Regions from separate parts of the Homo sapiens genome. Here region 1 is linked to region 2. The links are contacts of gene promoters, found by promoter capture Hi-C in human tissues and cell types (Jung and others, 2019). All regions are on one chromosome and are shown on one strand. The core of a region is centred on a gene start or on the middle of the fragment in contact, and the rest is flanking DNA. Distances in the headings are between cores, read along the strand shown.

What was found. Contacts are between HindIII fragments. The study calls those that stand out against the background at their distance.
Region 1: a fragment that was not itself captured here is called in contact with the fragment with the promoter of SHC2 in region 2 in 3 of the 25 tissues and cell types used here (dorsolateral prefrontal cortex, mesendoderm cells and thymus).

The regions. Positions count from the first base shown.
Region 1 is chr19:513,274-517,258 of GRCh38, forward strand. The region is part of intron 1 of TPGS1 (tubulin polyglutamylase complex subunit 1); the gene reads left to right. Among named protein-coding and RNA genes, the nearest start is that of MADCAM1-AS1, 7.4 kb to the left of the region's middle. The HindIII fragment of the contact is 7,591 bases long and covers 1-3,985 here.
Region 2 is chr19:458,971-463,092 of GRCh38, forward strand. It overlaps SHC2 (SHC adaptor protein 2), which reads right to left and starts at 2,063. Exons shown (of 13, transcript NM_012435.3): 1 at 1,559-2,063. The coding sequence starts at 2,026. The HindIII fragment of the contact is 8,702 bases long and covers 1-3,140 here.

The DNA.
Region 1 (3,985 bases), core at 161-2,660, 54 kb after region 2:
ATGGATGGTAAAAGCGCCCAGCGGATTATAAGGGCCAACAAATGGGGCCTTTACTACTTGGGAGGGAAAAGGAGCGTACAGCCAGATGGGCCTAGAGTTGAATTGCAGGTCGCTGCCCTCCTGCCTCTGGGCCTCAGTTTCCTCCTCCATAGCAGAGCTTTGACCCTCGAGCTCGCTGAGATGGCACGTCCATCCCTAAGCCCTGAACTGAGCAGCAGTGATGACCAGGGAGGCACGTGTTCACCAGGCACCCACCGTGCACCGGCCCAGCATTACTGAGCACCTACTGTGCACCCGCCCAGCATTTACTGAGCACCTACTGCATGCCGGCCCTGCATTACTGAACACCTACTGCACACCAGCCCAGCATTACTGAGCACCTACTGCATACTGGCCCTGCATTACTGAGTACCTACTGCACACCAGCCCAGCATTACTGAGTACCTACTGCACACCAGCCCAGCATTACTGAGTACCTACTGCACACCAGCCCAGCATTACTGAGTACCTACTGCACACCAGCCCCACATTTACTGAGCACCTACTGCACACTGGCCCCACATTTACTGAGCACCTATTGCATCCTGGCCCAGCATTTAGTGAGCACCCACTGCACACAACCCCAGCATTACTGAGCACCTACTGTGCACTAGTCCTGCATTACTGAGCACCTGCTGCACACCAACCTGCCCCGGCCCCACATTTACTGAGCACCTATTGCATGCTGGCCCAGCATTTACTGAGCACCCACTGTACACAGACCCAGCATTACTGAGCACCCACTGCACACTGGCCCCACATTTGCTGAGCACCTACTATGTACCAGCCCTGCATTCACTAAGCACCTACTGTACACCAGCCCTGTATTACTGAGCACCCACTGCACACTGACCCTACATTTACTGAGCACCTATTGCATGCTGGCCCAGCATTTACTTCACTCCCACTGCACACCGCCCCAGCATTACTGAGTACCTACCGTGTACTGGCCCTGCATTCACTGAGCACCTACTCTACACCGGCCCTGTATTACTGAGCACCCACTGCACACCGACCCCACGTTTACTAAGCACCTATTGCTTACTGGCCCAGCATTTACTGAGCACCCACTGCACACCGCCCCAGCATTACTGAGTACCTATTGCACACCAGCCCCACATTTACTGAGCACCTATTGCATTCTGGCCCAGCATCACTGAGCACCTACTGTGTACCAGCCCTGCATTACTGAGCACCTGCTGCACACCAACCCTGCATTTACTGAGCACCTACTGCATGCTGGCTTAGCACTTCCCCGGCACCTACCACAGGTGGCCCACAGAAAGGTGAAGTCGTGTGCCCAGGTCATGCCGGAGGGAAGGCTGCCCTCCTCACCATGAAGCTGAGCTCCCAGAAGGGAAAAGCGTAAGCCCTGAGGTTGGCCACTTCCTCTCTGGGACCCTTGGCCAGACCATGGGGCTGCCCTGAGCCTCAGTTTCCCTATATGTCCCAGAGGAAGTAACAGGCCACTAGCATGAGGCCTGGCCGGGAACTGATGGGGGGAGTGAGGCCAGGGGGTTAAGCAGCCCACCCAGGGTCCTGCAGCGGCCCCCACGCTGGCCACGGTGCTCCCTGGCCACTCCCTGGTGCCCTCCACGGGAGTGTGTGTCACACTACCAGCACACGAGTGGCACGTAGTAAGGCCTCAGGCTCCTCACTGGGGCAGGGAATCGAACCCACCCCAGAGCCGGCAGCAGGGCTGACAGCCTTCTTCTGTAAGGGGCCAGATAGTGAACATTTCAGCTTTGCGTGGCAGCCTCCATCCTGACATTCAGCTCTACGGTTCTGGTCGGAAGCTGCCACAGGCCACATGTCAGCGGACTGATGTGGTTATGTTCCGATAAAGCTTTATTTACAAAAGCAGGCAGCAGGTCGTATTTGACCCTCAGGCTGACTGTGGGGCCTTGCCTGTGGGATTGTGGGGAGAGAAATACCACCACTGGCCCCGAGCAGCAACTGTCACCTGTAATCCCAGCAGTTTGGGAGGCTGAGGCAGGAGGATCGCTTGAGCCCAGGAGGTGGAGGCTGCTGTGAGCCCTGATTGTACCACTGCTCTCCAGCCTGCACAACACAGTGAGACCCTGTCTCAAAAAAAAAAAAAAAAGAAAAAATGCAATGTCAGCTGTGTTAAATGTTCAGCACAGACTGGGCGCAGTGGCTCACACCTGTAATCCCAGCACTTTGGGAGGCCGAGGTGGGCGGACCACGAGGTCACTCGAGATCCAGACCATCCTGGCCGACATGGTGAAACCCCGTCTCTACTAAAAATACAAAAATTAGCTGGGTGTGGTAACACACGCCTGTAATCCCAGCAGCTCAGGAGGCTGAGGCAGGAGAATCGCTTGAACCCGGGAGGTGGAGGTTGCTGTGAGCTGAGATTGTGCCACTGCACTCCAGCCTGACAACAGAGTGAGACACTGTCTCAAAAAAAGAAAGAGGGCCGGGCGCGGTGGCTCACGCCTGTAATCCCAGCACTTTGGGAGGCCGAGGCGGGTGGATCACGAGGTCAGGAGATCGAGACCATCCCGGCTAAAACGGTGAAACCCCGTCTCTACTAAAAATACAAAAAATTAGCCGGGCATAGTGGCGGACGCCTGTAGTCCCAGCTACTTGGGAGGCTGAGGCAGGAGAATGGCGTGAACCCGGGAGGCGGAGCTTGCAGTGAGCCGAGATCCCGCCACTGCACTCCAGCCCGGGCGACAGAGCGAGACTCCGTCTCAAAAAAAAAAAAAAAAGGAAGAAAGAAAGAAAGAAAAGAAAAAAACAAATGTCAGTTGTGTTAAATGTTGGGCACAGTATTTGGCCACATGTAAACAGGCGCTGCTGCTGCAGGGAGGGAGACCAGAGGGTCCTGGTGTTGTGGGACAAAGAGTGGAGAGACCGAAAAAGGTTCAGGAGAGTTTATCAAGGTGATCACCGGCTCAGCTGGACATACATCCAGAAAGTCTGAGCCTCGAACAAAGGGCTTTTCCTATTTTTAAACATCGTAAGGCGGGAACTACGTGAGGCGGGAAGCAAGTTACAGAGGCGAGAAACAAAGGCAGTTAAGCATTACAGCATTTCTTTTTTCTTTTTCTTTTTTTTTTTTTTGAGACGGAGTCTCGCTCTGTCGCCCAGGCTGGAGTGCAGTGGCGCCATCTTGGCTCACCGCAACCTCCACCTCCCAGGTTCAAGCGATTCTCCTGCCTCAGACTCCCGAGTAGCTGGGACTACAGACGTGTACCACCACGTCCCGCTAATTTTTGTATTTTTAGTAGAGATGGGGTTTCACCATGTTGGCCAGGATGGCCTCAATCTCTTGACCTTGTGATCCTCCCACCTCGGCCTCCCAAAGTGCTGGGATTACAGGCGTGAGCCACCGTGCCTGGCCAACATTTCTCACATCTTGAGAAAAACATGTCTTACAACCTAAACTTATCGGTTTTGTGACCCTGCAGCCGTGCTAGGGAGGTAAGCAGGAACTCGCTGGGCCTGTAATAAACTGAGGAATGTGGAGTTGGAGAGTATAGATAAGGTCCACTGACTACAGAGAGAAGACAGGCTGTTAACATTCTCTTTTAACTTGAGTGTAAGGGTGGGGGTCACACTTTGCAGCAACTTTAAGAGGATTTTAAAATTTCTATGACTACTACTATTAGGTTAGAGCTGATTTCACTAATTCCTTCTTCACTGGGGCCAGATGCCCCAGACAGATGCCTGCCGTTGATTCAAGACATTTACTGAGCACCTACTGTGGGCAGGGCAGTGTTCTGGGCACCAGGGCTATAACCAAGACGAACTTCCGGCCCTGGAGGGCAGGTGCTCACACTGGTGGGAGACATGAAGCTCACAGGGATGTGGGACAGCGAGTGAGACAGGATGACCACTAGGAAGAAAACAGGAGGAAAGGAGTTAGGGGTCAGGGGAGGCGACATTTGAGGAGAGACCTGGAGGAGACCAGGGAGGA
Region 2 (4,122 bases), core at 813-3,312:
GGCCCGGGCTTGAGGCCCCCACCTCTGCCTGTCTCCTAACGGCCCGCTCCTCTGTGCATCTGAGTCTAAAGTTCCTTCTCCTTACAGAGACCCCTGATCCAGGTAGGCCTCATCTTGACTAGGTTACATCTGCAAGGACCCTGTTCCCAATATAAGGTAATAAGGTCAGACTCCTACGGCACAGGAATTGTAGGGGGACCCTTCTCAACTCGGTGTAGGGGGAAGGACCCCACTGAACCCAGCGTAGGGGGAAGGACCCCACTGAACCCAGCGTAGGGGGAAGGACCCCTCTCAACTCGGTGTAGGGGGAAGGACCCCACTGAAGCCAGCGTAGGGGGAAGGACCCCACTGAACCCAGCGTAGGGGGAAGGACCCCACTGAAGCCAGCGTAGGGGGAAGGACCCCACTGAAGCCAGCGTAGGGGGAAGGACCCCACTGAACCCAGCGTAGGGGGAAGGACCCCACTGAACCCAGCGTAGGGGGAAGGACCCCTCTCAACTCAGCGTAGGGGGAAGGACCCCACTGAACCCAGCGTAGGGGGAAGGACCCTTCTCAACTCAGTGTAGAGGGAAGGACCCTACTGAACTCAGCGTAGGGGGAAGGACCCCACTGAACTCAGCGTAGGGGGAAGGACCCCACTGAACTCAGTGTAAGGGGAAGGACCCTTCTCAACTCAGTGTAGAGGGAAGGACCCTACTGAACTCAGTGTCCAGAAAAGCAAAGACACAACCCAATGTGAACACAGGCTAATGTTCCTGGCCGCAGAGGCCGGGAGGAGCTGGGAGCACCCACCGGTAGTGGCGTGCGGGAGTGGCTGATCATTTTCCCAGACGCCGTAATGACTGCAGCTGTAGGACAGCTGCTCTCTCAGAAGACGGGGGACTATGCACGGCGCTGTCACCCCTGCAGGTGACTTCACACGGTTTACTATAAACCACAGAGAGGGGCAGACCCGTCAGCAGAGGGGAAGGTTACCCTCCTAGGTGGAGGCGTGCTGTGTCCAGGCGCCCGACTTCCCCGTGTGTTTGAAAAGGTTCATTTATCATAAGACCCAAGGTAAATAAACAAAGGCCGCTTCCTTGGCCGCCCTGGAAGTCCCTGCTGCCTCCCATCTGGAATCCTGGGGTCTGTCCGGGCGCCAGCCCCTTTCCAAACACCCCTTCCCGCACCCCCACCGCAGGCCAGCGTCTCGGGCCCCGTCTGTCATTCGTGAACAGCTGTCCGGGGGGCTCCGGTGGCAGAGACGCCCCGGCCGCTCGCCGCTCTCGGCCTCGCCCGCCCAGTCCGAGTGGGGGGCGGTGCACCTGCGCATGCGCGCCCCTCCCCCGCCGCCCTCTCCCCGCCCCTCCCCACGTGACGCCGTGGGAACCCGGACCCCAGCGCCTCCGGGTGGGGGCAGCCGCCGGCCGCCGGCCGGGGATGGGGGTCCGGGGTGGCGGGAGAGCAGGAAGGATGGGGAGGGGACACCTGGCTCGCGGGGTCCGGGGGTCCCGGAGGAGAGGGTGGGGGAGGGGAGGCCGCCGCGAACGGGCTCCCGGGGGGGGTGGGGGGGACTCACCCGCACGACGTAGGAGACCCCGGGCCCCAGGACCCTGGCGTCGGGGTGTAGCCAGCCGTGCGCGGGTTTGTGGATGAAGCTGCCCTTCCGGATCCACTCGGCGGCGGCGGCGGCGTCCCCGGACCCCGCCGCCCCCCGCCCGCCCCGCGACCCCCGCGACCCCGCGCCCCGACAGCGGCTGAGCGCGGGCAGGGGACAGGGCGCGGCGCAGCGGGGCTCGCAGGCGCCCAGGACGGCGGCCGCCAGCGCCGGGACGCCCCCCGGGCCCGCCGGCTCGGGTTGGGGGTCCGCGCCCCCCGAGGCCCCAGCCGCCCGCGCCGCCGCCGGGCCGCGGCCCAGGAAGCCGCCCGGGGCCGCGAACTTCCACTGCGGCATTCGGGGCAGCAACGCGCAGAAGGTGGTGGGCGCCTCGGGCTCGGGGGGCGCGGGGGGCGCCGGGGGCGCGCGCCCGCCCGGACCCTGCGTCATGGCCGCGGCCGCCCGACGGAGCCCGACCGGGCGCTGCGCCTGGCGCGGAGGAAGCCCTCCCGCTCCGCCCGCTCCCTCCCGCCCCCCGGCCCGGTGATGTCATCCGCCCGGCCCAGCGCGCAGCCGCGGGGGGCTGCGCCCCTGGGACCCCGGCCCTCCTCGTCCCGGAGCCTGGCCGCGAGGCTGGGGAAACTGAGGCCCTCCGAGGACACCGGGCGCTGGCCTGGAACCCGCAGCCAAGGCGGGACGGGGCTTTGAACCCAGAACCCCGTCAGCGACCCTCCCCGCTGCGCCCCCCACCCCCGCCCGCCGCCCAAGTTCGCAGAAGGACCGAGCTGGAGAAGCTTAGAAATTCCACATCCCTTCTTTCCCCTATTTCCTAGTGGGGAAACTGAGGCCCCGGGAGGCGCGGCCAGGGAAAAGAGAACCCCAGACCCTAAGGTCAGCCCCTCCCTCTCCGTTGTTGCAGCTAGAAGGTACCTTAGGGTCACCCCTATTTCTTAGTGGGGAAACTGAGGCGCGGGGAGGGGAAGGGGCGCGGCCGAGGGCTCACAGACGAAGCTCAAACCCAGGAGTGCCGGCTCGGGGGTGGGGGGGGGGGGCGGGGCTAGGAGCGGAGCCGGGCCCCTGCTCTGCGGCCTGTCCCGGCCTCAGTTTCTCCGGCTGTAACTCAGGGGAGCGGGCTGGAGGGTCGCGGCCCTTCTTCCCTCACTTCTGGGGAGCCCAGTCCCGCACCAGCTCATCTGAGCTCTGGGCCTCAGCCTCCCAGGCCGGTCGCTCCATCCCCAGCCTCAACCTCTCCGAGACCGGCCGCACCTTCCCTGGCCTCAAGGGTCGGTTCCTTCTGCACCAGAAAACGGGGTGTCACTGTCACCCCGGGACCCAGCCTCCTGGCCCGACTTGGCTGGAGCTCCCCTGCACCTGCCCCGCCCCAAGCAGGGCTGATTGCCGGGAACAAAGGGAGGGGCCGGGACGCGCTGGCAGGTGGGGAGGGAGGGAGGGGCGAGGCTGCCCGGAGCCCGATCGATAATTCAGGGGATGAGATCACAGCCGGCGCCGCCCGCGGGGCCGGGGAGGTGGGGGAGGGGAGCGAGGCGCGCGGTCGCGATCGGCCGTCTCTGCCGCGGCGCGTGTCGGACTCAGCCCCTGCGCGTCCGCGGGAGGAGCAGATCGTGGGCGCGATTGGTCGGGCTGGAGCCGCGGCTGGACCTGCGCGCGGTGTGTGTGTTGTGCGCAGGGTGTACGCTGTGTCTGGGTGCGTGTCCAGGCATATGCAGGGGATCCAGGCTGCTGGGTCCTGGGGTGTGTTCACCTAATGGGTAAAGGGTGGGACAGGTTTGGCGGCCCTAGGCTGAGGGCTGTGGGCTGAGGAGAGAGCAGCCCCACCACCCCCTCTCTGCGCCCTGCATGCCTCCCAGGCTGCATCCCTCAGGGAGGTCCCGGGGCAGTGTCGCACCCTCCCAAGCTCCGGGATTAGGGTCTTTCTGGATGGGAGGTTTGTAAGGTGGTCCAGGTGCCATCCCTCCCTGGCACACAGAGGGCTCAGTCACACGGCACCCCCGGTGTGTTTCCTTCCTGTCCCTTGGAGACAGTGGCAGGAACTCAGTCCAACATCCAGAGTTCAAATCCTGACATCAGACTGAGGTGGGGGCTCACAGCATGCCCCAGGACAAATGTCCAGTCTCTCCAAAGCACCATTTCCTCTCAGTAGATGCCCCTGGTCCTGAGTTGCTATGAAGCCTAGATGATCTTTATTAATATCCAAAACATAGCAAGCAGCTACTGATGGCAGATATTAGAATACCTCAAGCTCCTATACATCCTTCAAAACCCAGCTTCAATATTGCCTCTTCCAGGAAGCCTACCTGGCTGCCTGCTCAAAAGCTTGGCTCCACCTCCGGCCTCCCCTCGCCCTGGGTCTCTCTTCTGGTCTCTCAGACCCCCTGGCCACTGGAGGGCTACGGGTCTGGCTCTGGAGGGCGGCGTTCGGGTCTCTTTTCTGTGACATCAATAGACACGTTAAGGCCGGGCTCGGTGGCTCATGCCTGTAATCCCAGCACTTTGGGAGGCCAAGGCAGGAGGATCACAAGGTCAGA